3 separate regions of the Homo sapiens genome follow, and all the other regions are linked to region 1. Evidence: promoter capture Hi-C in human tissues and cell types (Jung and others, 2019). All regions are on one chromosome and are shown on one strand. Each heading gives the region's core, a stretch centred on a gene start or on the middle of the fragment in contact. The rest is flanking DNA. Distances are from core to core; before and after follow the strand shown.

The links. The method cuts DNA at HindIII sites, captures the fragments that hold promoters and counts their contacts. A contact is called where the count stands out against the background at its distance.
Region 2: a fragment that was not itself captured here is called in contact with the fragment with the promoter of KCNG1 in region 1 in 5 of the 25 tissues and cell types used here (H1 embryonic stem cells, IMR-90 fibroblasts, dorsolateral prefrontal cortex and 2 more).
Region 3: a fragment that was not itself captured here is called in contact with the fragment with the promoter of KCNG1 in region 1 in 6 of the 25 tissues and cell types used here (IMR-90 fibroblasts, aorta, dorsolateral prefrontal cortex and 3 more).

What each region holds. Positions count from the first base shown.
Region 1 is chr20:51,020,902-51,025,058 of GRCh38, forward strand. It overlaps KCNG1 (potassium voltage-gated channel modifier subfamily G member 1), which reads right to left and starts at 2,206. Exons shown (of 3, transcript NM_002237.4): 1 at 1,969-2,206. RefSeq lists an enhancer at 1-410 and a silencer at 2,135-2,304. The HindIII fragment of the contact is 10,697 bases long and covers 1-4,157 here.
Region 2 is chr20:51,106,721-51,110,877 of GRCh38, forward strand. No RefSeq gene overlaps it. Among named protein-coding and RNA genes, the nearest start is that of KCNG1, 86 kb to the left of the region's middle. The HindIII fragment of the contact is 3,896 bases long and covers 1-3,655 here.
Region 3 is chr20:51,086,809-51,090,965 of GRCh38, forward strand. No RefSeq gene overlaps it. Among named protein-coding and RNA genes, the nearest start is that of KCNG1, 66 kb to the left of the region's middle. RefSeq lists an enhancer at 285-864. The HindIII fragment of the contact is 3,469 bases long and covers 384-3,852 here.

The DNA of each region.
Region 1 (4,157 bases), core at 956-3,455:
TTCAAAGTGGTGCTCAGATCTGCCCCAATCAGGCTCCAGGACAAGCTTCGGGAAAGTCTTTGGGGATGGGGAGAAGCAAGTAACCTCTGCCTCCCATGTCACATCTCCCTCCCAGAGGCCAAAAAGGCAACCCAGAGTTTGGCAAAACTAGGGGTTTGGTTGATTTTTTTACTCCCAAGGTTTGACAACCCAGGCTGTAGGCTGCGGGCCTGGGCTCTCAAGTCTCAGGAGAAGAACCTAGGTTGCCTCGTTTCCAGTGTGCTTGCAGTTCCCTGCAGGTTAGGAGTGTGTCCCAGGACAGACATCTTTCCCGTGGAACGGGCTGGCTTCGAGAATGACTGAGGAGGGTGATCCCCAGGGGCCAGCGCTTGCCTGTTTTTCAAACACACCTTCCCTCCTTCCCCTCCTATCAGGCGACTCTGCAGGGCTCCAAAAGCCGGGGGAGGCACAAATAGAGCTCAGGTCTGGCAGAGCCTGAAAAATCCCCCAAAGAAGGACAGCATGCCCTAGCCACAGTGCCGACCGCAAGGCCCCAATCAGCAGTGCCAAACTTTTCTTGGAGATGTGCTGCCGGTGAGGCTCTTCATAGGGACTCTGCCATCATGGGTATGGGGGTATCAAACACACACTAATGAATAAACCTCTGCTCAGATTCATAGGGCAGGAACTTCCCCCACCCCACAATGAATCAGACCAGTTCCTGCTCCCTCCTCTTACTTCCCCCTGTACTTATCTCAGGGAGTCAGCAAAGGGGGTGGGGGCGTCTGTGTCTGTCTCCCTCTTCTATGTGTCTGTCATTTACCTGGGTAACTTTGGTGCCTGGCACCCTTTAAGTGCTTAATAACAGCGAGTGCTTAAGAAAATGCCTGCTGAATGGACAACCTAACTCATAAACCCCATTGGTGGGAACCTGCATTCCTCAGTAATGTCGGATCAGTGTTTCTCAACTCCTCCCCACCCTACCCCATCACCCGCCCCTAAGGAGCTTTGAAAAGATCTTTTCTTCCTATTCTAGAACCAATTCCAGCTTCCACACCTCCCACCTTGAGAAGGAATGCATTAGATGAACCAAGACTTCTGCCTATATACATGGGCTGCTACAGTTGGCCACCCCGGCAGTCTGCGGCCTCCCAAGCGGGGGCCTGGGTCTTAATCCTTACTTCTCTCTAAGCTGCATGAAGGGTGCCCCCATTCCATCCCTCTTCACTTCTCCCCAGCATAGCGCCTCCATAAATGTTTGTGAACTGGATGAATGACTGTTGAGCGCTTGGTATGATGAGCTGCTTACAATAGGTGCTCAACCAATCTTTGTCCAATCTATGAATGAATGAATGAACTTCACCCTTTTCCTTCCATACCTCCGGGCTGAGCCTCTCTCCCACATGGAAACCCTAAGGCTGAGACCACCACCTTCCTACCAGTTCCTGGGGGTGCCCAGTGAACTGTCTCAGTATCCCCAGTGCCTAGCACACAGTAGGCGCTCAATAAACGCTTGCTGTGTTCATAATGAATGACTCAATCAGGCCCACGGTGGGGGTGAAGGGGGGCTCCATACTGTGCCTAAGGATACAGTGAATGAGCAAGTGACACACACTCCCCCACCCCAATCCCTAACTCTCCTTCCTCCCAGGATCGGGGGAGAAACCTCGGCCCACAGCCGGGATGCGCCCCCGCCGGGGTCACCGCGGCGGCGAACGTCCCGGACTTCGCATCCCGGTGACCCCTTGGGATGAACCGAAGCCGGACCCGCACCTTGGCCGTAACAAGCGCGCTCCACGCCGCCACGCACCAGCGGTGACTCCCGAGTCCTCTGTCGCCCTGGCCTCCCCGCAGGCGGGTTTCGAGGCCCCCGCAGGGAGTTCAGGGCCACGGCCACGTGCAGCCGCCCCCGAGCCCGAGTTTGCAGGCTCGGGGTCCGGTTCGCGCTTCGGTGGCGCCCGGCGAGGCTGCAGCGCGCAAAGTTCCCACCTCAAGTTCCCGTCGCGGCGTCCCCGCCTCGGAGTTGGCCCGGCCGCGGCTTCCGTTCCCCCCGGCTGCCCACGGGTCCGGGGCGAGGACGCGAGAGGGGCCTGGAAGTCGCCCGGGGAGCCCGCTCTGCCTCCCGGAGCCGCCGCCAAACTTCGGTCCCGGGGCCCGGCTCAGCTCCCGCCCTCGGAGCCACGGCCGCCCCGTCTCTGCCTCCCGGTCCCCGCCGGGCTCCGAGTGCGCCGGGAGCGCGGCGCAGCAGCCGCCGAGGGAGGGAGCGAGGCAGGAGGCGGGACGGAGGGAGGGGACTGAGCGCGGGGCGGGGAGAAGGGGCGGGCAGCCGAAAGCGCAGCGCCTGGCCTCGCCTCGCTTCGGGACAGTGGCAGCGGCGCCACCGTCACGGGGCGTCCAGGCGCCCAATCGGGACCCCGCACCTTGGATCCGGGGGCCCTGGCGCGCCTGCTGGATTGCGCTCCTCGCGGCCAGTTCCTGAGCCCGCGTCCGGGACTGCTCGCGCTACGCCCTCCCTCCCGTTGCCTTCTTCCCCGTCTGCTCTCCCAGGAGCGACCACCCTGCGGCCCCTTCGCCTGCACGCGACAGCCTTCAAGGTCCCCGCGCTCCGCTGCCCTGGAGCTTCACGCACCAGGCGGCGCGGCAGCCTCCTAGGGTCGCGCGCCCTGTCAGCTTTCCCCGCGGTGCAAGTGCTCCGGTGGTCCCGGGTCCGCGCCCCTAGCAGCACCGCCCCAGGGTCTACATGTGCTAGATATTAAAACCCCACTCTCCGCTGCCCCGGGGCCGCGCTCCACGCGCTTACACATCCTGGGAACCACATGCGCCATGTCTCCTGCCTTTCCCTGGAAGTCCTGGAAGTCCAAGTGCACTGCTGCCTCTGGGTCCCTCGCCCCCCTACCCCGGGCAAATACTGCATCCTTGAGGCCCTCCACGCGCTGCTGCCCTGGAGCCGAACGCTCCAAGCAAGCTTCCACATCCTGGGGGCCATATATCGCGCGCCTTTTCTCGACCTCCTAGACCAATGTTGCCCTTGGGCCCTTCCTGCCACCGCCACCCAGGGACTGCCAGCATCTTGCTGTGCCAAATTCCTAGGGCCAGTACGTACCGTGCCAGGTGTTTTCCCTTCCAGTCCCGCGGGGCCGAGGCCCCAGAGCCCTCCCGGGCTAGCAGAGCCGCACTTCGTCGTCCACTCCCCTGGCCGGTGCAGGGCACTTGGACCAGGTCCTGGGGTCTTGCTCCCAGTGTGGCCGCCTAGCCTCGGAGTTGGTAGGATGCTGCACAGATGCTGGAGGTTGGGTTGGAGGGATCTATTGGGTTGGAGGAATCTACTGAGTTGGAGGGACCTATTGGTTTGGAGGGATCTGTGCTGCTGGCAGGGCTGGCCTCTTAGGGTGGCTTGCCTTGCACTCCGTTCCTCTTCTCCTTTCTGTCTCTTGCACTCCGTTCCTCTTCTCCTTTCTGTCTCTTGCACTCCGTTCCTCTTTTCCTTTCTGTCTCTACTGCCTTTGCCTATCATCAGAGAACCAAGAAAGGACATGAAGAAACCCTGCTGCCGACCAGCCTGAGGCCTTCTGCTTGAGTGGGGCTCGGGTTGGGGAGTCGTGGGTGCTCATTAAGTGGGTTAGGGTTAACCCTAAGAAATGAGCGCAGGGCACACTAGCCTGCGCGGCAGTCCCAGCCGGGTGGAGCATAGGAGTTCCAGGTTATAGTGCACTATGATGGCACCACTGCAATCCAGCCTGCGTGACTGAGCGAGATCCAGCCTCTAAAACAACAAGAATAAAAACACTGGCTTACTGGTGAGGTGGAGGCCTGGACAGACAAGGATCTGCCTAAGGACCTGTTTCCAAGAGCTCACCTTCTACTGGGGGCTTGGCAGAATTGGGAAACTGCTGAAATACGTGATTGCAGAATGAAGCCAGAGAGGCCACTTTAGATAGAATAATGGGGGAGGGCTCCTGTGGAGGTGATGGTTACATGGAGCCCTGAGCCAGAAGGAGCCCATCTGGCAAGATGGGAAGAGAGCTTTCTAGGTGGACAGAACATCAAAGGCACTGGCCTTCAAGCAGGAGAGAAGGAGGCATGTCTGAGAAACATCAAAGAGACCAACCAGCAGTGTGGGGGAGGGGCCTGAGTGGGGTGGGGTGGGCTTTTGTTGTCAGAGGGTCCCTGGATTACAT
Region 2 (4,157 bases), core at 458-2,957, 85 kb after region 1:
AACCATATCAACCAGACACCAAATCTATCTGGCACCTTGACCTTGGACTTTCCACTCTCCAGAGCTGTGAGGAATAAATTTCAGTTGTTTACAAGCCACCCCGTCAATGGTAGTTTGTTATAGTAGTCAGAACAGACTAAAGTGTCCTCCAAGGAGGTGACAACTGTTACAATCTTCTTGTGTCCTTCTCCGGAATGCAAATATAGTGAACATAAAAATCAGCTTCCTATAGATGCTGTTCTGCTCCTTGACTTTTTTGCTTGGAGGTTGTTCTATCGGTTTGCATAGGGCCGACTTACTCTTTTTAACTGCTGAAGAAATTTCACTAGAGAAATGTGCCATGATTTATTTAATTGACCCTCCATGAATAGACTTTTCCATTGTTCTTAATCTTTTTACACCAGGTCAGCAGTTCTCAACTGGAGCTGATTTTGCGCCCCGCCTGCCCCAGGAGATGTTTGGCAGTGCCTGGGGAGATTTTTGATTGTTATAGCTGGGAGGTGGGGTGCTACTCACTAGTGGGTGGAGGCCAGGGATGCTGCTGGACATCCTATGGTGCAGGGGACGGCCCCCACGAGAGACGATTTTCCCACCCCGGATGTCAGCAGGGCTGAGGCTGAGAAGCCTGCGCTAGGTGGTGTCTTCAGGCTGCAGGCTGCAGGTGAGAAGTCTGGAGGGACTGAGATGTCAAGTCCAAAGGCAGGGACAGGAGGAAATGCGCGTGCCATGAGAACACTGCGCTTTGCAGGAAGGAGGAGGGAAAGTGCTCAAGCTCGTGCCCCTCAGAGTCTAGAGAAGACAGGTCTGGAAGGGGCCACCACCCAGAGAGGGGAGGGGCTCCCCTTATTCCTTTTGTGCCCATTTATGCTCCTAGATTGTGCCTGGGAACTCCAGAATAGTGGGTAGGAGATGCAATTATCCTCAACAAACCAAACACAGTCATTAAACAGAATCTCAACGCTCTTAATTACTAGTATATTAGCATATTACGAATGAGGAAGCAGCGTTTAGTATATAACAGCAGAAGCTTTGGGAAGAAATGCCTATTTTTACCACTAATTAAGAGAATATTATAGAAGAGTTAGAGAATTAATTGTACTTCAGTATATCTTTATAAGGAAGATAATTGGGTAAAGATTGTTTCTTTCTTCCCACATCACAATATTTGCAGGCAGATGGTATTGTTCGTGCTGAGAAACTGTTGTGGTATCAACACAAACCATTTTCTCCTTCAAAAATATTTAATACATTAATTGGCCTCCTCTTTGCAGAATATTATTACGATTATTTACATCTATGCTGCACTTCACGGTTTTCAAACACATCCATGTGCATGAACCTATGGAATTCTCGGGGTGGTCAGGATACTATCATTCCCTTTTTACAGGGGATAAAACAGCTAGGAGAGACTTAGGTGACTTGCAAGAGGCCAGAAGCTTAAAACGGTTGCAATCAGGACCAGAACCCAGCCCCCAGCACTAAAATGTCTACTTCTGGACCATGGATGATTCTTCATTTTCTCTGTAACCTGCACGATCTGGTACCTCACTGTGGATGTGTGCAAAGTGTTTACCTGCTCTGTGTGTGTGTATGGAGGGGTTCCATATTGTGTGTGTGTGTGTGTGTGTGTGTCTGTGTGTGTGTGTATGGGGGGTTCCATACTGAAGTGAGAATAGCAGGACCTATGTGGTACAGGAGTCCTGGGTTCAAATCCCAGCTCTGGCACTTACTGTTGTGTGACTTTGGGCAAGTGAAATAATCTCTTTCAACTTCAGTTTCCTCATCCATGAAAGAAGGGTTGTGATTCTTATTTCCTGGGGTTGCTGTTAGGATGAAAAGAAATGATGTCCTCAGGTGCTCAGTACAGTGCCTGCCTGGTACGAGGTGGCTTATGGTTGTTATTGTTACTCCTGCCTGGATCTGCTCACTCATCAGACACTTCTGATTGTATCCAGGGGTTTCACATGTGCACACATATCAGCCCCAGCCACGTGTGGCTTCCGTGGCCACAGTTTCTGATGCCTCCCCTGAGACAAGCCTTTAAGTCCTGCTGCTCTGCCTGTGCTGGGGAGCAGGTCCTTTTGGTCACCCAGCCGCCAGCGCTTCCTAAGCTCGTGGTAACCGATCGGCACAGCAGCTAAGGAGGGGATGGTTCCTGACTTTTGCCATATGCTTTCGTGGCGGGCTACTGCAGTGGGCTGCTGGGACCCTGATGCGGCACAGTGCTTGGGGATTAGGCTTTATACACTATACCCACAGCTGCTCCTCCTCGGGGTGAGCACACATGGTCAAGGTCACCTGGTTAAGGTGGGGCTCAGGGTTTAGACACCAATGTATACTGAGAATCACGCCTTCCTTTGGGATCCCAGGCTCACACAGTGGCAGCATTAAGTCATCTCTCCTTGAGATAAACTCTCCCAGGAGCCTCTACTGGGTGATGGTGGTTCTGATCTGACTGGTATCACTTCCCCCCTTATTTTGGTAACTGAGCCTTAGTTTGACTTTGATGAGTTAGCAGTTCTCCGCTCTCAGACCCTGTGGTTCAAGAAGGTCTGACTCCAGACCCTTGGTGCTGACAGGGGATGTGTGACCCATCCCTGACATAGGAGAATGCATATGCATGCTCCTCTGGTCACAGAAAGTGGTTTAGGGATGAGCATGTGACCCAAGTCGGGCAACTCACAGCCAATCCCAGGACTTTTGCGGGCATTATTAAACGAGAGATGATCTTTCTGCTGTGGGTGCTCAGCTGGTAGGATGTACGCCTGGGACTACAGAGGCCATTTTGCTAGGACATGGGGGATGCCCTCTAAGAATGAAGCCAATGCAGAGGAAGACAGAGACCAGAGATGGTCAGAGACAAATTCCTGATTGCATCATGAGTACCTGGATCCATCCATGCCTGAAGACAGATTGAGGTTCCATCATTTGCAACCAAATGAGCCCCAAGGCTGACCTTGACACTGAAGCTCCTTTCAATCTCTTCTCCTCCCACCCACCAGAAGTGCTGGGATTTGCCTGAATCCTGTTAATGGGCTGACTGCAGGTTCTTTTACAGGCAGCCCTTAAGAAAACAGATACCTTCAAGAAGAGGTTGGAGAGAAAGGAGAAGAAAAAGCTCTCCCAATTTTCCATGCTAGATCTCCAGCCTGGCTGAGATGCTGCCTTGTATTTTATCAGGCTCCTTTCCCCATTTACTTTCCACTAGACGTTTTCAAGAGGAAATGACAGAGATTACTTTTTCATGAGGCTGCCTTTTGTAACCCAGCAGATGTTTAATTAAAATTTTTATTATCTCCTCAAGTTAACACAGAAATTCATCTGTTATGGCAGCACAAGTCCCCAACTTTGAAACTTCCCTTTTATGAGTTGAGAATTCCACTATTAGCCAAAGCCCAGCATCTTTCCCAAGCATCTCTGTGTATAGTGCAGGTGAGGATTTGACAGCCCCTCACTTCAGCTTAGATGTGACCTCCTTTATGACGCTTCTCTTGAAACCCCGCCCACCTATCCCCATGCCTGTTGCCTTTTTCCTTCTCTGCTCCTTGCACCTGTGACACCTTATGCTATGATTCGTTTACCCATCTCTGTTTCTAAACTCCTCGAGGACAGCAACTCTATTTTCTTTATACTAGAGTGGATGGGTATTTTGGCCCGGTTTTTAATTCATGAATATATTCCCACAGCTTTAAACAGTGCCCAGCACATAGTACATGCTCAATAAATGTTTATTAAATGCATCTCTGCATCCCACACATGTTGCAGTCCTTAGCACAGAAGAAGGACTTGGGACCTGCAAGAATGAAGCGAGGGGTTAGATACGCCCTTTTACTTGATGTGATGATTACACATTGCATGCCTGTATCAAAGTATCTCATGTACCCCATAAATATACCTTCTACATACCCATAAGAATTAAAATTTAAGATAAAAAAGGATAAAGTAGGAAGGAAAGTTGGTTCCCAGCTCCCCCAATATCACTGCTGTCCAGGACTCAATCACGGCGGGTTCTTCTGTCTCCTTTTATCCAATCAGACAGCAACTGCCTCTCTTCACATTCATTCATTTTCCAGATCCCCCGCACACTTATTGGTGCCTATACAGTGTCAGGTGTAGACAGATGAGCGTGTACGGATTCTGCCTGAAACTCACCTGCT
Region 3 (4,157 bases), core at 868-3,367, 66 kb after region 1:
GACTATAGGCATGCGCCACCACACGCAGCTAATTTTTGTATTTTAGTAGAGACGGGGTTTCACCATGTTGGCCAGGATGGTCTGGATCTCCTGACCTTGTGATCTGCCTGCCTCTGCCTCCCAAAGTGCTGGGATTACAGGCATGAGCCACCGTGCCCAGTCCATATATTTTTTTCTTGAAAAAAATATTTCGTGAGACGATTAAGGTGCGAATTATTTCAGGGAAGGTGTTGGTGAGTGGTCAGTAATTTAAATTAACAGGATTTCCGGGGCTTATTTAAGAGCCTAAAATAGAATTGCTAAAATTCAGAGAGCGTTTTACTTTAACTTCTGCTATAGGGACTCTTTTGCCTTAAAAATGCTTTGTTTTCATCGCCATTAGCTTGCAAAGATATTTTAAAAGTTTAAAATATCCTTAGGATTTTTTTCCTTGTTAATAAACTGGGTTAATGATTTCCATGGAGATTACTTCCAACGAGGCTCTTGTATTTTAGGCAAGCAGCTATCCTGTTGGGATCAGAAAGGAATCATTTGAAACCTTTAATCTCCTAGCAAGACTAAGTGCTTCTGGTGAATGAACCCCTGGGTCTCAGTGGGACATTTGAGAGGCCCTTTAAGGTACAAAGCGCTGTGTTTCAGAAGACATAATCTTTCAAGTAGGACTCACAAGTGAGGGACTTTGACCAGCCTGGTTGAGGGAAGTGTGTGCATGCCTGTGTGTGTGTGTGTGCCTTGCACGCATTGGGGGTTGGGAAATTTGTGTTCTGTTAGTGGAGGGTGTCCTTTATAACACTGAGAATGAGGGTGATGTTCTGGTTTAAAACCCCTGTAACTTACATGAACTTCCACGAGCAGAGACGGGTGTTGTTGAGCAGAGTTTCCTGCACAAAATGTACAGTTGCATCACCTGGCATCTTGTCAAAGCACAGGTTCTGATGCAGGAGGTTAAGGATGGGGCCTGGGATTTGGTGTTTGTGACAAACTCCCAGATAATTCCATCCCCATGCTGCTGGTCCCTGGACCACACGTGGAGTAGAGAGAGTACAGACCACTTCGTTTCACCTCCACTGGGAAGAGACCGAAAATCACATTTTGGATCCTGCCAGTCCTTAGCAGCGCTGATTCTGGTGTATCTTGGGACTTTATGTCATCCCCGAAAAAGGGATCCCCTAAGAAGGGTAAAGCCCGAACACCTTTTAAGTCATCAGTTCTAGACTAGCTGATGTCCTCTAATCCTGGCAAGGAATCTGGCTGCAGGTAAATGGTGGTTGCAGGGGAGACAGATCAGCAATGATTCAGGCAAAACTTTTCTTCTAAAGCAGAAATGATAAATGAAGCTTATTGTTTCTTCAGAATTTCTTTGTGTCATTCTCAGCTACGGGGACTATTAAAGTATATTTCCCAAGGGAGTGGTGGTATTCGGTGATGTCCTTGTTCATTTAGCTGAAGGCAGATTTCCCTGTTTCCCTCAATGGGAGATGATCTTGTACCTGAGTCTTTAGTGAAGAAGCAGCTACACTGAAGCCTTTCATCAGAATTCTCAATGAGGCAGCAGACTCAGAGAGAAGAAAGAAGCAGGCCCTTCTGAGCTTTTTGGAGAATTGCAAAGCAGGCAGCCTGTATCAGGTAGCTACTGACATATAACAAATAACCCCAAAACGTAATGGCTTCAAACAAATAACCTTTTTAAGAATATTTTTTATTATGGATTCAGGGGGTACCTGTGCAAGTTTATTACATGGATATATTGTGTAATGGTGAAGTTTGGGCTTCTAGTGGACGCATCACCCAAACAGTGAACGTTCTACCCAATAAGTGGTTTTTCAACCTCACTCTCATCTCACCCTTCCCCCTTTTGGAGTCCCCAGTGCCTATTATTTCCATCTTGATGTCCTTTCAAGCAATAATTTTTAAACCATTATACTATCCATATGTATCCCATAACATCATGTTGTAAACCTCAAATATACACAATAACATTTATTTTTAAAACATAAATCATTTTTTAAAATGAAAAAGCCCCAATAACCTTTTATTATCATGATTATTTCTCATGAGTTGATGTGTAGGCTGGGCAGTTGTGCTGATCCCAGTTGGTCCCATTGATTTGTCCATGGTCAGCTGGTGGTTCCGCTGGGGGCTGGTGGTCTAGCATGGTCTTTGCTGGGACCACTTGGCTCTTCCACCTACCACCACATTCGTCACAGTCTGACACGTTCCCATGGCGGTGGCAGTGGTCCCTGAGAGAGCTATAGTATCCCAATCATGCAGGAGGACAAGTGGGAATACCCTCAGGCTTTTCAAGCTCTGCTGGCATCAGATGGGCTAACATACCCCAGTGGCCAAAGCAAGTCATATGCCTGAACCCAGAGTCAGGGAGTGTGGGACCAGAAAGCTGAAGCAAAGAGCATGAATGCAGGGAAGCCATTAGTGAAATTCAGGAATGAACAAGCCCCTCTCTTAATGCTTGAGACTGAGTTTGTAAATCTCTGAGTATAGACAAAACTTTTCATTCATTCACTTATTCATTCGTTCATTCATGAAACATTTATTATTTCTCTCTTATGCAAAGCACTGGGCTCAGTCAGACTTGACTTCGGAGTTTTACTTGCCTTGAGATCTACACCCACTTAACTTCCACCTCCAGATCGTCTCCATGTGGAAACTGCAGAAAGCTTTTGCTGACTCCTCAGCGGGGCCCGTGGGACCTGTGGAATCATTCTGTGGAATGAGGCAGAGGGTCCCCTCCCCAACGCCCACAGGGCAGCTACTGCCTGTTGCCATGGAGATGCTGGATAGCTTTAAACAGACCCTACCTGCTACCCACTTCTGGGGCGGCTGCCTTGCAAGATGAAAGGGCCTGGCTAGAACTCAGAAGGTCTGCTGTCCTCTTAGGCCCTTGGGTTGATCGCCTCATGGAGGCTGTTTTGATCATCATCATCAATGCAAATAATTAAAATTTTTAAAAACAATTTTTGTGGGTATATAGTAGGTATATGTATTTATGGGATATATGAGATGTTTTGATACAGGCATGAAATCTGTCATAATCACAACATGGAAAATGGGGTATCCATCCCCTCAAGCACTTATCCTTTGTGTTACAAATAATCCAGTTATACTGTTTTAAAATAAAACAGTATGTACAATTAATTATTGTGCATTTTAAATTAAATGTACAATTTAATTGTACATTTAAAAATAACTCAATTATTTAAAATTATTTAAAGTAATTATTTAAATAAAATAAATAAATAAATAATTGAGTTATCTTAAAATGCACAATTATTGACTATAGTCACCCTGTCGTGCTATCAAATACTAGGTCTTGTTCTATTTTTTTGTGCCCATCAACCATCCCCACCTCCCCAATTTCCCACTGCCTTTCCCAGCCTCTGGTAACCATCCCTGTACTCTCTATCTTCTTGAGTTCAATTGTTTAGATTTTTAGATCCCACAAATAAGTGAGGATGCAAATAATCTTTCCCTCACAGTTTCGTTGGTTTGGTTTAGGTGGATTTAGAAGCATATTGTAAACCCTAAAGAGCCATGAGCATGTCAGGGTTTATTACAAGTAGGAAGGAGAAGCCAAAAGTTCTCTCCCAGCGTGGTCATCGATGATGTGCTGGGAAACTGGATGTGGGAAGGGCCGGGGAAGAGCCCAGGATTAGAGTGATTGCTGATTTCCTTGGTGTAAATACATCATGGCTGATTTCTATCAAGGTTGCTACCAATGATTTAACAACCTACTTGTAGAATTCTCCTACAAACAGCATCATGCTTGACCTTACAGCACCCATATGAAGGAGGTACACTTTTGACATTCTCACTTTACAGATGGAACAATTGAGATTCAGGGAGGGAGGCTGAGTATGTGCCCAGAGTCCCACAGCTACAGGTCCCACAGCTACAGCTACAGGGTATGATGAGGCATGTCAGACCCTCCATTTTCCCACATTTAATCACTAGAACACCTGGATATTTAACAACTTGCTTTCTCAAGCTGGTAGGAGCCAGTTCTAGTTCCCCTGACTTAGCTCAGGTACCTGCCTGCCTGGGTTTGAACTGGCCCCGCCTTTTACTGTCTCGGTGATTTTGTGCAAGTGACTACGCTCTGTCTGTTGGTAATAAGGGGATCTAACAGTACCTGCCTTCTA